3 separate regions of the Homo sapiens genome follow, and regions 1 and 2 are each linked to region 3. The links are contacts of gene promoters, found by promoter capture Hi-C in blood cells and fetal thymus (Javierre and others, 2016). All regions are on one chromosome and are shown on one strand. Each heading gives the region's core, a stretch centred on a gene start or on the middle of the fragment in contact. The rest is flanking DNA. Distances are from core to core; before and after follow the strand shown. Region 1 has its middle 8.1 kb from the start of MIR3649. Region 2 overlaps WNT5B (Wnt family member 5B). Region 3 holds the start of CACNA2D4 (calcium voltage-gated channel auxiliary subunit alpha2delta 4).

Evidence for each region. Contacts are between HindIII fragments. The CHiCAGO score rates a contact against its expected background, and 5 or more counts as called.
Region 1: a fragment that was not itself captured here is called in contact with the fragment with the promoter of CACNA2D4 in region 3 in 5 of 17 cell types (neutrophils, non-activated CD4 T cells, monocytes and 2 more); the score reaches 7.8 in neutrophils.
Region 2: a contact is called between a fragment that was not itself captured here and the fragment with the promoter of CACNA2D4 in region 3, in 4 of 17 cell types (activated CD4 T cells, megakaryocytes, fetal thymus and 1 more). The highest score is 5.9, in activated CD4 T cells.

What each region holds. Positions count from the first base shown.
Region 1 is chr12:1,650,307-1,654,182 of GRCh38, reverse strand. No RefSeq gene overlaps it. Among named protein-coding and RNA genes, the nearest start is that of MIR3649, 8.1 kb to the left of the region's middle. The HindIII fragment of the contact is 5,972 bases long and covers 1-3,876 here.
Region 2 is chr12:1,629,716-1,633,919 of GRCh38, reverse strand. It overlaps WNT5B (Wnt family member 5B), which reads right to left. Exons shown (of 5, transcript NM_032642.3): 2 at 2,486-2,622; 3 at 1,015-1,262. The coding sequence starts at 2,565. Among named protein-coding and RNA genes, the nearest start is that of WNT5B, 2.6 kb to the right of the region's middle. RefSeq lists an enhancer at 2,962-3,061 and silencers at 3,243-3,537, 3,492-3,551, 3,582-3,771. The HindIII fragment of the contact is 5,946 bases long and covers 1-4,204 here.
Region 3 is chr12:1,916,518-1,920,836 of GRCh38, reverse strand. CACNA2D4 (calcium voltage-gated channel auxiliary subunit alpha2delta 4) reads left to right here and starts at 2,185. Exons shown (of 38, transcript NM_172364.5): 1 at 2,185-2,590. The coding sequence starts at 2,364. RefSeq lists an enhancer at 3,536-4,112. The HindIII fragment of the contact is 3,790 bases long and covers 1,688-4,319 here.

The DNA.
Region 1 (3,876 bases), core at 902-3,401, 270 kb after region 3:
TTTTTTGTGGAAACAGGGTCTCACTGTGTTGCTCAGGCTGGTTCAAACTCCTGGTCTCAAGTGATCCCCCTGCCTCAGCACCCCCAAAATCTTGGGATTGCAGGCATGAGCCACCGCACCTTGCCTGTTTACTTTAGATTTGGGATCCCCAAGTTCCCCCTGCCATATGCCCCTACCAAATGAAATCTCTCTAGTCACTCTTCTCATTCAACATTCATGGTGGCAAGACGAGGAAGATTATTGTACACTCCCTGAGACTTAGAAGGAAATGGGCACCTGTTATTTCAGCTGACCAGATTCCTTACCCAGAAATCCACCTGAAAGAGGTCTGGAGTCAGCATGAATTACTAGCTGTGTGAGGTGAGGGATGCCGCTTCACCACTCTGAGTGTTAGCTTTCCCATCTGAAACACGTGGATAATATTGGCTACACTGCAGAGGCCCTGAGAGGATTACATGTAATGTATGTAAAGCAGCTGGTACACAGTAGTACTCAATAAATGGTAGCTATAATTATTACTCACCTCCTTCATCATAATCTTCAAGCATGAAAAGTACTGTGGGTGTCTTGAGGGTCCAGCCGAGCAGGACAAGGCATTCCTTTCATGTTTTCTTTCCTAACTGCATTGCCCTCCTCACTCATTCTTTTAAAACTAAGTAAAATAAGACTGACCTAATTCTTCCCACATTTATCCAAATGAAAAATCTAGAACTCAGCTTTGCTGCTCTCCAGATTCTGTTTTCTGCCATCAATCCGCAAGGACACACCACCCAACTTTTTTTTAAATTTACAATTTTTTTTTGAGACAGAGCCTTGCTCTGTCGCCCAGGCTGGAGTGCAGTGGCATGGTCTCCACTTACCACAACCTCTCCCTCCCAGTTCAAGCGATTCTCCTGCCTCAGCCTACTCAGTAGCTGGGATTACGGGGGTGCAGGCTACCACACCTGCCTAATTTTTTTGTATTTTTAATAGAGATAGGGTTTCACCTTGTTGGCCAGGCTGGTCTCGAACTCCTGACCTCAAGTGATCCCCCCCCCCCCCCGCTTCGGCCTCCCAAAGTGCTGGGATTACAGGTGTGAGCCACCGCGCCCAGCCAAAAAAAAAAAAAAAAAAATGTTTTTTTGAACCAAGGTGCGGGCCAGAGCTATTCGGCTAGAACTGAGAAGATAGCGACACTGTGTGGTCACATGCAGAACTGCAGACCAGTCTGGAGTGGGTTCCAGGCTGATCATTTGCTCCGACCTAAGGCCGTGATATCTGTCAGATGAGACGTTAGGTCCATTAAAAAGTTTACTTGCATGTTAGAAAATAAAATGAGGAAGGAAACATAGCACCTAAAAAGCGTGAGTGTAATTATTTCCTATTTCACAGACGTGTCCTGCCTGTCATAGCATTCAAGGTCTATATGGCTTTTGCTGTCAAAACAAAAAGGACAAAAGAAGGCCAGCCACAGGGCGTAAGTCAGTTTTCTTTCTTTCTTTCTTTCTTCTTTTTGAGACAGAGTTTCGCTGTATTTGCCCAGGCTGCTGGAGGTGCAATGGTGCCATCTCAGCTCACTGCCACCTCCGCCTCCCGGGTTCAAGCGATTCTCCTTGCCTCAACCTCCCAAGTAGCTGGGATTACAGGCACCCACCACCACGCCCGGCTAATTTTTGTATTTTTTAGTAGAGACGGGGTTTCACCATGTTGGCCAGGCTGGTCTCGAACTCCTGACCTCAGGTGATCCGCCTGCCTTGGCCTCCCAAAGTGCTGGGGTTACAGGCGTGAGCCACCACACCCGGCTGTAAGTCAGTTTTCAAATGCCTGCTGGGTGCCCCCAAGAGCCGTGGAAGATTTGCAGAAACATCCTGGCAACCCTTACCCCTCTCAGGTCTTACTTTTTGGCATGCTCAGACCTTGAAGAATGAGGAAAATGTATGAAGGAAGCAATTGATACTGTAGAGTGGTCCTGTCAGAGGGAAGATACCTTTAAATCATCCACAGGGATGACTGGCCTTCAAATACAGCTCAGTATTGAAAAATGAATGCACCTGCAGGGCAGAATACCAGCCAGGGGCTGTCACTGACTCTAGTCTATTCTCTGCTTCTTAGCAACTTGGCTGCCTGAACCCTGCAAGGTAGATGAATGGGTGTGTGTCCTATCCTGGGTTATTCAGAGAACAGAAGCCTTCCTCTTCACACTAGTGGGCTCAGGTTTTTCCTTATTTTAGACAATCCTCAGGACTTGTTCCATAATTATGCATTTTCACAGATAAAAGACTCCTCAGTAAAGCTATCATGAGAATTTCCAGAGTAAATACTTAGGGGTCTCATTCACACCAACTGGATTATGTGTTCTCTGGATCTAACCATCCGCCGAGAAATTTATGAGAACGTGAGCAGTTCCTCTCACCTTGATGAGTTCTTCAGCCCCTCCACTCATTGACTTGAACTGCTGCAAAGTCATGCAATGGTGGACAGAGCCCTGACCAGAAGCCCCTCCTGGGAATCTGGGACAAGGACCAGGAGAGATTCAGAGTCCCTTCCTGGGGCTGGAACTGTGAGAGAGAGAGAGAGAGAGAGAGAGAGAGAGAGAGAGACCTCAGAGGAGAGAGGAGGAAGGGAGAGGGATCCAGAGGTGTCCAGGTCAGCTCCTGAAGACCCTGGCGTCTTTGAGACTCTTGGGACCCTCATGTCATACTCCTTCTTCATAATCTGACTCAAATTGGTTTCTATTACTTGCAATTTTGATAGAACAAATGATATGATGGACCACGCAGTTAATCACATTATGCCTCAGTTTCCTTGTCTGTTCATGAAGAAACATCATTCATTCATTCACTCAGCAAATATCTATTGAGTGCTTTCTTTGTGCTAGGCACTGTTGTGGGTGATGGCAGACATAGCAGGGAACAAAAGAGGTATCAAAACTTCCCTTATGAAACGTAACTGCTGCTAAGAAGTCTCTGGAAATAAATATACGAAAGACGTAACTTCCAAATCAGGGACCAGCCGAAGAGCTGGCTGACCCAACAGGCAGAGCACCAATATGGAATGAGGCCAGGGTCACTTCAAACAGTACTCACTCCTTTTGGCTTTACAGTGAGATTGGATCAAAAGGGTTCACCTTTTCTATAGTGTCTGTTCTTTCACGTCTTTCCTTGGGTCCCTGCTGAAGTCCCCTCCTGATATTCTGCTGAAAGCCTCCCCACCACCCGGTTTCCACACCAGCAAACCCTCTCTTGCCCCGAGTGATTTGAGTCTGTTTCTTTCTCTCTCTTTCTCTCTCTCTGTCAATACTGCAGTTTCCTTCTGGCTTTGGCTGTGAGCAGCTTTCAGTCTATTTTCAGTTCTCCTGTGGAGCAGCAGATAATACACATACATCTGTAATTCTTAAAATCTCATTGGAACCATCCCTCCTCCCACCCAGTTGTTTATCACAACGACTTAGAAGGCCTAAATTAACTGATTCAGCTCTGTCTTCTACTGCTGCTTCTGGTAGGGCTGCAAATGAGCAGCATGAAGACCAAAAGGCCTGCAGCAAGAGGGAGGAAGCAAGGACTGGAGAATCTACGTGAGGAATGCCCAAACTCTGCAACAAGCTAGAAAATTAACTGTGGATGGCTTCAGTCTTCCACACTGCCTGACGTCTGATCCTCACTGCTGGGCCCAAATCTTCTTACTTCAGAGAAAAATGGGCAAGCTCCCATACTTCTTATGTAAAACCAGAATTAAAGCACCCACCCTTTACTTACTGTTTTAGTATAAACACAATGCAGAGATTCTTACATAATAAAGAACTAACAGTAACACTTAGCAACCATGGCTCACAGCCCTTCTCAGCTCCCCAACATTCCTTCTAGAGATATGAAGCCTGTCATCACCAGCCAGGCAGAG
Region 2 (4,204 bases), core at 46-2,545, 290 kb after region 3:
TTCTCAATATGGGACAGAGAGGGTAGGGAAAGAGGTCTGGAATAAGTGGGAGGGGGAAGGAGCCTTCCAAGTATCCTCCCTAAGAGAGGAGCACGAAGAAATCTCTACCTCCCCAACTCCCCTCCCAGGCTGAAATCCCTCTCTGGGGAAACTCCAGCCTCAGGTAACCTTTTGAAGGGAGGTGTTCTGGGAGAATGTCAGGCAGAAGGAACACAGCATTCTAACACTTCCCTTTTATGGCCCTGGGGATAAGACCCAGTAGAATAGGGCCGGATTTCTCAATTTCTTGCCAGAGAGGAGAGGATTGCATTTCAAAAGGACCTAAAACAATTAGACCTCAGATCACACCTCCATCTAAGCAATAGGGTGGCCCAAGAATCCTTGGCCAGCAGTGGGAGAGGGGAAGGGACAGGAATCCAGAAGACTTGGCCCTCTCCCTCTCATCTTTTCTTTCGTCTGACCCCTTCCCCCATGTTCACACATCTCTTTCAAAAGAAAAAGCTGGGACTGGATGGGGTTGGGTTAGTGACAGCTATCAACACTTTGGCCGACATTTCTATCTCTCTGTCAAAGGTTGAAGTGGAAGAGGCAAAAATCCAACAGACATTCAGGGCTGCAATTTCTGGTTCTCTACCCAAGGCTCTTTTTTGCACTGAGACACAAAGGCAGTGGCGGTGGGCGGCTCTCCTAATCCACTCTAAGTCAACTCAGATGTCCTGCCCCCTCTCAGTGAGTCCCAAGCAACCTGCCCCCTCTCAGTGAGTCCCAAGCAACCTGCCCCAAGTGAGGCTGGAAGGCAGAGAGCTAGAGGAACATCAAGCGTGTGGTTTCTGCAGCCTCCCAGAGCCTGCTTCCTCGTGTGCCTCTCTCGTGGTGCACACTGCTGCCAAGCCTAGAGAGAGCCCACTTAGGCTGCCTTTGGGCTCTCCCTGTGCCAGTCCTGAGAGAGCTTAATTGCTCCCAAACGAGACGAGTGCAGTTCCTTGGCCGAGCCCTCTTGTAATGGCCTCTTACCTATCTGCATGACTCTCCCAAAGACAGATGCGTTGTCCGCTGTGCTGCAATTCCACCGCCGCTGCCGGAACTGGTGCTGGCATTCCTTGATGCCAGTCTTGGCTCCCTCCCCTATGTAGGCCATGTGCTCCTGGTACAATTGGCACAGCTTCCTCTGGCCAGGGGAGAGCCCGGGAAGCTGACTGCACACGGGCTGGGCACCGATGATAAACATCTCGGGTCTCTGCACCGGGTTCAAAGCTAATGACCTAGGACAGCAATCCAGAAAGGGGAAAAAAAGGCCCAGGAGTGAGCATACGCCTGTGTGCAGCATTAAGTCATTCATTCAACACATTTATTGAATGCGTCCCTGTGTACAAGGCCCTGGAAAGAAAAATTAGTAAATCAGAGTGCTGGCCTTCAAAGGACAAACTGAAGGAATCTGAGGCATGAACACAAAGGACATGCGAGATGCCAAATGCCCCAGACAGACTCTGGATATGCTTCTGGATCTGCTGTGATCAGATAGGAAAATAGCCCTTATGGCTGAAGAGAAGCCTTTATAAGGAAATGGCCAGAATTTGAACTGGATCTTAAGAATGGGGGTCAGGCAGATAAGAAGACGAGGGGTGGGGAGCAGCTCTTCATTTTAATAGAGGGCAAAAAGAGCCAAACCTCAACAGGAGAGCACAGGCCTCATTCAATGAGTAGGAGTGACTAGTTCAGTGCAGCCCAAGTACATGATAAGCCATGGAAAGCAATCAATCCTTTGCGTGGTACTCCCTTTGGGCCTTTAAAATCCAATCACTTTACATACATCACGATCTAGTCTACTTGTTTTCACTGCCATGTCTCACTTTGAGCTTCCCCTCATCCACTCTCCACCAGTTCAGAGGCTCTCCCTTTTGCTCATCATCTACCAGCCATATAGAGTGTTAGATGAGAAGGCTGCAGATTTGCTATCTGAGTAAAAATGCTAGTGGCAGAGACCATGCAAAATAGGTGGTGATCGCCTGCCATTTCCCTGTCAACTTGGCAATGACAACAGCCCTTAAAACATAAGAAGAAAGCCAGCCACCCATGGTGCTGTGAACCCCTCATCTGGCCTTCAGACTTATAAAAGAGGAATTCTATATCCTACCAGCAAAACACACAAAACAAAGGAACAAAAAACTACCAAGTATTGATATTCTTGTTGACCCAAGAGCAATTTCTAACAATTCATGGGCATGAGGGAAGGTCCAAGGAAAAGGAATGTGGACAGGATTAGAGAAAAAAATCAAATGAACGGAACCTTTATCCTCAGGGAACCCTTACAAAGATAAGGGTTGAGAGAGACACAGAGCGTTCTTAGTTTTCCTGGGATAAAAGAGGCCCTTAGTACTCCCAGGAATCAAGGTACTACCGTGACACACGGTGCCCTTCCTCCTCATCTCAGTCGCTGAAGGAGGCCTCCGGCTGTGCAGGCAGGACCTCAGCCCCTCTTACTCACCACCAGGAGTTGGCGTCTGTCAGAAGCTGAGCCCAGCTGGACAGCAGAGCAGCCGTGAACAGCAGCAGCAGGCTGGGCATGGTCGGCCTCAGCCCTCCCCAGTGCCCTGGGACTGACAGTTTCCAGAGTAGGGTTCCCTGGAGAAAACAGAAATGGAGAGTCAGTGTGGAAACTCAGCGGATAAGGGCAGACCAGGAGCCGGGGTGAGGCGGAGAAAGTTGCACTGATGCTTACGTGCTGCGTGTTCCCCACAAAGAAGCTCGGCCTCTTTCCAGCCTCCGCCTCCCACTGCTCATCTTCCCACCCTAGGACTTCTGTCTCTTACCCCAAACTGTGGGAACCCTGCACAGGACCTAATTTCCAAAGAAATAATGAGCTGAGAAACCACAAAGAGAAATGAAAACAAGTAATTTCAAGAGCGGAGCTTGCGGCGTTCCTCCGTTCGGCAGCCGGGAGGCCACTTCGGCTGTTGTAAAGCATACCTGTCCTTGCTGCAGAACATCCAAAGAAATGGGGCCCATCCTATCCACTCCCCCACGTGCCTACCTCTCATTCCAGCCCAGAGACTTATTTCTCTGACCCTCAGGCTCTCCTTTGTAGGATTAAAACATTTTGGTGAATTGGATTTACCTGCACCCAGGGAGGAGTCTCCCCTCTCCATCTGCGCCCTTCTCACCCTCAGCGGGTTTCCTAAGTCCCAACCCCTGCGTACAGATCAAGGACTTTTCACTTTCTCAAGGCAGCTTCTCTGAGAAATGTACAAGCCACGCCGCGAACCGCCCGCCCGGAAAGCTCTGGCGGCTGAGGTGGTGCCTCCCTAGGCGGCCCCTGCCCCTCCCGGCACCGTGGTCCTCGAGGGCGGCACCGAGTACCTTGCCCAGCAGCTGCACCGGGGACACTGCCGACGCCAGGCGGCAGCTCTGGCATCAAATGCCTGAGCTGAGGACGCATCTTCCAGATGCCACAGCCCTTCCCTGCTGGCTCCCGGGCCTCCCGCCTCTTGGCCTCCTGCCTGCTGTAACCCACGCCTGTTCCTCTATCCGCCCCCGAGAGCCCCTGTCCCCAGGCCCTGGGACCCGCAGCAGGTCAGTGCTGCTAGAGCGAGCCTGCGCCTCGGGACACACGGCCCCTGCGGCTCCCCCGCGGTCCTCCGGGGCCCCCGTCTGGGCGTGACCCGCGCCCCCAGCGGCCTCCCCGGGGCCCCGGACCTGACGAGCGCAGCCCCGCGCGCCCCGGCTCACTGCGCCACTCTCGCGCGTCGGCGTCCCCAGGCTCCCCGGGAGGGGGCGGCGGGTGCTTCGGGTCATCAGCCCGGGAAGTATTTTTGTCCTGGGGCCGCCAGGAGAGGACAGTGGCCCGAGCAGGGTCCAGGAGAGCTGGGACACAGCCCTTCCCCAAGCCCCCTTTTGATTTTCCTTCTCGAAGCCTCGGCTGGGGCGGGGGCACCAACAGGCAGGTGTGTGGGGCCGGCAGGGGGCAGATCAAAGAAGACACTTGCTCCTTCCCCTTTGTCATGCAGAGCCAGCTCGGAAGTGAGCCGGCCCCCAGCCCGGGACTAACAGCTTCCACGCCCGACTCCCCTCAGACCCCCCCTCCTCTGGAGGATGCCCCTCCCCCTCTCCTCTCCCCCCATAAATCCTCCTCGTCCCCCGGGGCAGAAGGTCTGTGAATGCACCGGCTGGAACCACGAGAGATGGAGCAGAGATAGGGCTGGCACCA
Region 3 (4,319 bases), core at 936-3,435:
CGGCAGCATATTTCACAGTAGCCAAAAGGAGGACACCACCCCAGGGTCCATCGATAGAGGAACGGATGCACAAAATGAGGTCTATCCACACAATGAAATATTAACCCATCATTGGTCACCCCCAAAAAGTAAGGAAATTCTGACACACGCGGCACCGTGGGTGAACCTTACCGACATTGTGCTAAGTGAAATGAGCCAGTCATGGAAGGACAACTATGTGATGACTTCCCTTCTGTGAGGTCCCTAGAACCGTCAACATCAGAGATACAGAAAGGAGAGTGGTGGCCGCCAGCGGCTGGGGGAGGAGGGAACGGGAGCTAGTGTTTAATGGGTTCAGAGTTTCAGTTTTACAAGATGAACGAATTATAGAGATAGATGGCGGCGAAGGTGGAGCAACATGATTAATGTATTTAATTACACTAAACCGTACACTTAAAAAGATGATTAAGATGGCACATTTTATGCCACAATAAATATTGGGCCACAATAAAAAAGTTGAAAAAAGGTGAATATTTATTCAGTTTTAAAAATCATTCCAAATTACAAATTTTAAGAAGCTGGTGAATTCCACCAAATTCACAAAACCTAGAGAAGTTACATTCTTTTTATGTATTGACTGCCCAGTGTGCCTCTGTAGTATTTTTTCTAAATGTGTTTGATTTGTAATCCTCAAAACATGTACAAAATTTATGTGAAATTAAGGCATTCATAGGAATCATTTAGATGCCTTTAAAAAATACATTGTATTCAGCCACAAAACTGTGCCACCAGATTACTCTGATACTACAGCACTGACTTATTGATGAATCTGTGTAGGAGTTTTGTCATCAGAACACTTGCTTCTGCAAGCATTTCTCTGCGTTGGTGGCAATTTTGCTTACCATTTTGCTGGAACCACCAGATTTTGTGAAGACACAGTGCACCAGTTACACTAAGAAAATAATCTGATACGGGGACTGCATAAAATCTATGACTTCACCCCCGGAGAACCCATGTGGTACTACTACTGGTTTGGGCTCACAACACAAGAATTTTGATCAATTCTAATTTGTGTAACTCTCATCAGAACACAAAGCAATGTACGGTGTAATTATATTCTTTCAATATCCACTATTTTCCTAACAGGAGAGAACTTCTGTCCTGGCCAGGCCTTGGTGAGAACCAAATCCTCCACCAACGATGTTACCTGTGTGGCTTTTTGTAGATTTTCTGCAGATGAGCTCCTGACTGTTACTTTGCCCTCCCCACCACACATGGCCAGGGTGGGTGTGACAGCGTGCGCTCACATCACGGCCCAGCCTCTCTTGCTGCATCTGCTGGTGGGATGTCCTGTGGGATGAGTGTTCCTGGAAGCCCTGCCTACACTCAGCTGGAGGTAACTTCTCTGTACAAAGAAGTCACTGTGAACCATGTCAGCATATCCCACTAAGCCCAGATTAAGTGTTTCCCCAGCTCACTTTCCTCTTAACTGGATCCCCCAAGTGCCCTCAGCCACCCAAACATCATCCAACTAAGAGTCCCTCAGACGGAAGAGAAGTTGGGATGGAAAGAGACAGACAGTCTCAACCGGTTATGGTTAAACTATCTCAACTTTTGCATATTTTACAAAAACATTTGGCCACAGGAACACATTGCTAGGGCCTCTCCGGGAAAGGGGGGAGTCTGTGGATTCAGGGGTCCTGAAGCTTCATCAGTTGCACAGCAAATGCGTCCCCAGCCCCGCCCACGAGCAGCTGAGATGTGGAGGCGTGGGTCCACTGACTTCACCTATGACCTATGACCTGTCCCAAAGGCACCAGGCCTGGAAACACCAGCCAGAGTCCCAGCTCTGCCCCTGGGACTCCCCGGGCCTCAAGAGCCTCTGCCAAGCAGGGATGAGGACACACCCCCACCTCAGGGTCAACAAGAGATTTGTGGGTCAATCAGAGTACTGTGCAAACTCAGCTGCTGTCCTCTGGCCATAGTCACAGCAAGCCCTTCCTGGGTCCAGAAGGTGGTTCCACAGGAACGGGGCTGCCTCTTTAAAGCAGAGGGGTGCACTATAGCCCTGAGGGAACCAGCTGCAGTTGTGGTAATCTTGGGAGGCAGCTCCCCACCCCCTGCCACCCCCTCCCTGCTGTCAGGAGAGGATTAGAGGAGAGGCCAGCGGATTAAAGGGTTTCATGTTGCCACAGCCTCTCCCCCAGTCCCTGTCTCCGAGGCCTGCTTGCTAGGTGGGGCGACTCTTCTGTGAGCTGCAGCTGTGGGGCAGAGAGAAGCCCTCCCCACCCAGGACTGAGAGGCTGGAGACCCCAGGCTCGCCAAGGCACGGAAGACAAAGGCCTGGGGCGTCCTGGGGTCTGGGAGGAAGGCAGACAGAGCTCATGGTCTGTGGCTGCTCTGCCCTCCTTCCCCTCCCCAACCCCAGGCCCACCATGCCTGCAACTCCCAACTTCCTCGCAAACCCCAGCTCCAGCAGCCGCTGGATTCCCCTCCAGCCAATGCCCGTGGCCTGGGCCTTTGTGCAGAAGACCTCGGCCCTCCTGTGGCTGCTGCTTCTAGGCACCTCCCTGTCCCCTGCGTGGGGACAGGCCAAGATTCCTCTGGAAACGTAAGCATCACGTTCAACCCCACCCCAAAAACCCGGTCACCCTTTCCCACTTTCTTCCCGGGCTGGGCCTCCATCCTCTGCCCACTCCTCCCGCCCCTGCCCTCCCTCTGGGCTTTTCCCCAGTGGCTGCGACTGACCACTCTCTTGCTGTAAAGCCCTTTGCTTCTCCGGCCTCCTCTTTCTCCTCCCAAAAGCTCTGTGAGTTCTGGAGTCCCACCTGCCTCTCCCCAGGAGCCGGATGGCTTTAGGAAGAACTGATCATCAGGGCTGCTGTCTTCCTGGCCTGACAAGCAGCTTCTGGGACACCTGAAGGGCGGGTGCTCCTTCAGGATAATCGCTGAGATGAGGCAGCCTGGAGGAGCCGGGTTATCTCAGCATCGCAGCTCCCCGAAGCATTTGGCAGGAAATGCGTATTTTGACATTCCAAAAAGGGGAAGCAGTTCTGAACCCACAGAACGTCTCATGCGCACAGGAGGTGGCTTGTCCAGGAACTGGGGAAAAAAATGGATTTTGGTGGCCGCAGTCTTCCCTTTCTACACCTTTCTGCCTCCTTCCAACCTTGATTCTCTAGCCGGCCATTAAGACCGGCTCCAGGAAAGAACCCGGTATCAGTCATGTGCACCTTGGTGTACATGTAAATTACTGTGCAACCTCTCTGGGGTGTCTGTGTTTTAGGCCCTAGCTCAGGTGGTCCTAGGAAGGAAATTTCCAATACATGTGGGTAGCAGAGCCTTCTAGACTGTAGGTGCTACAGACCCCATCCTGTTTACTCCAGCCGCTTGAGCCCAGCACCATAGCCAGGCCACCAACAGAGCCACCTGCCAACTGCATGTCTTAGCAGGAGTGGGGACAGGGAGCCTAAATGACACACCGTGCCTGTGCTTAGCCTTTGCTGACCAGTGGATTAGGCAGCATCGTTTCCCATCGAGCCGCATAGCTCTCCTTGTTCCCTGCCTGGCACGGAGCTGGGCGCTTCACAAATGACACCGTTAGTTTGCAGAGCCATTCAGTGGGGGCTTATTTTTATCCCTATTTTGCAGCTGAGGAAACAGAGGCCCCGAGAGGTCAGGTGACTTCCCCAAGTTCACAAGGCCAGGAAGTGAAGGTGCTGGGATTTGAACTCCTGTCAGCCTGGACTGCACTTTCACCATTACACCCGCCGCCAGCCCGTAACGCTATCTGTTGCTGCAGGAGATGTTCAGAACAATTTTCATCCCCAGAACACACACCAGCTGATAGGAGAGGGCCAACTCCAGGAGTGGGCTGAGGGCCAAGTCGGGGTGGCTGGAATCCAGGCCTTCAGGGAGGGGGGCCCCAGCGGCCATCTATGCAGAAGCCCTGGGTGCTGCCAGAGACAACAGCCTGCACACAGCCTCATCTGCCTGCCCAGGACTTGGCCCCACCTGTCCTCACTCCCGCCGAACCTCTCTTCTCAGTCTTTCCCTCCAGCCGGGCTTCCACCTCCTCCCAAGTCTGTTTCCACAGGGTTCCCAAAGCCCTCCTCATGCCCAATCCAGGAGACATTCCTGGCCTTGTCACCCCAGACCCTGTTGCTTGGGACACACAAGCCCCCGTCTTCTTTTATCCCAGTCCTTGACTTCCGTGGCACTGCGCTCCGCTGGGCCTGCATGGGCACGGCTTATCTCTGCTGTCCTCAAGTGCTCCTCCTCCTCTGCCTGCCCCGGAGGTGGGGGGTGCTCCCCAGCAGCTGTCGACGCTCAGAGATCTC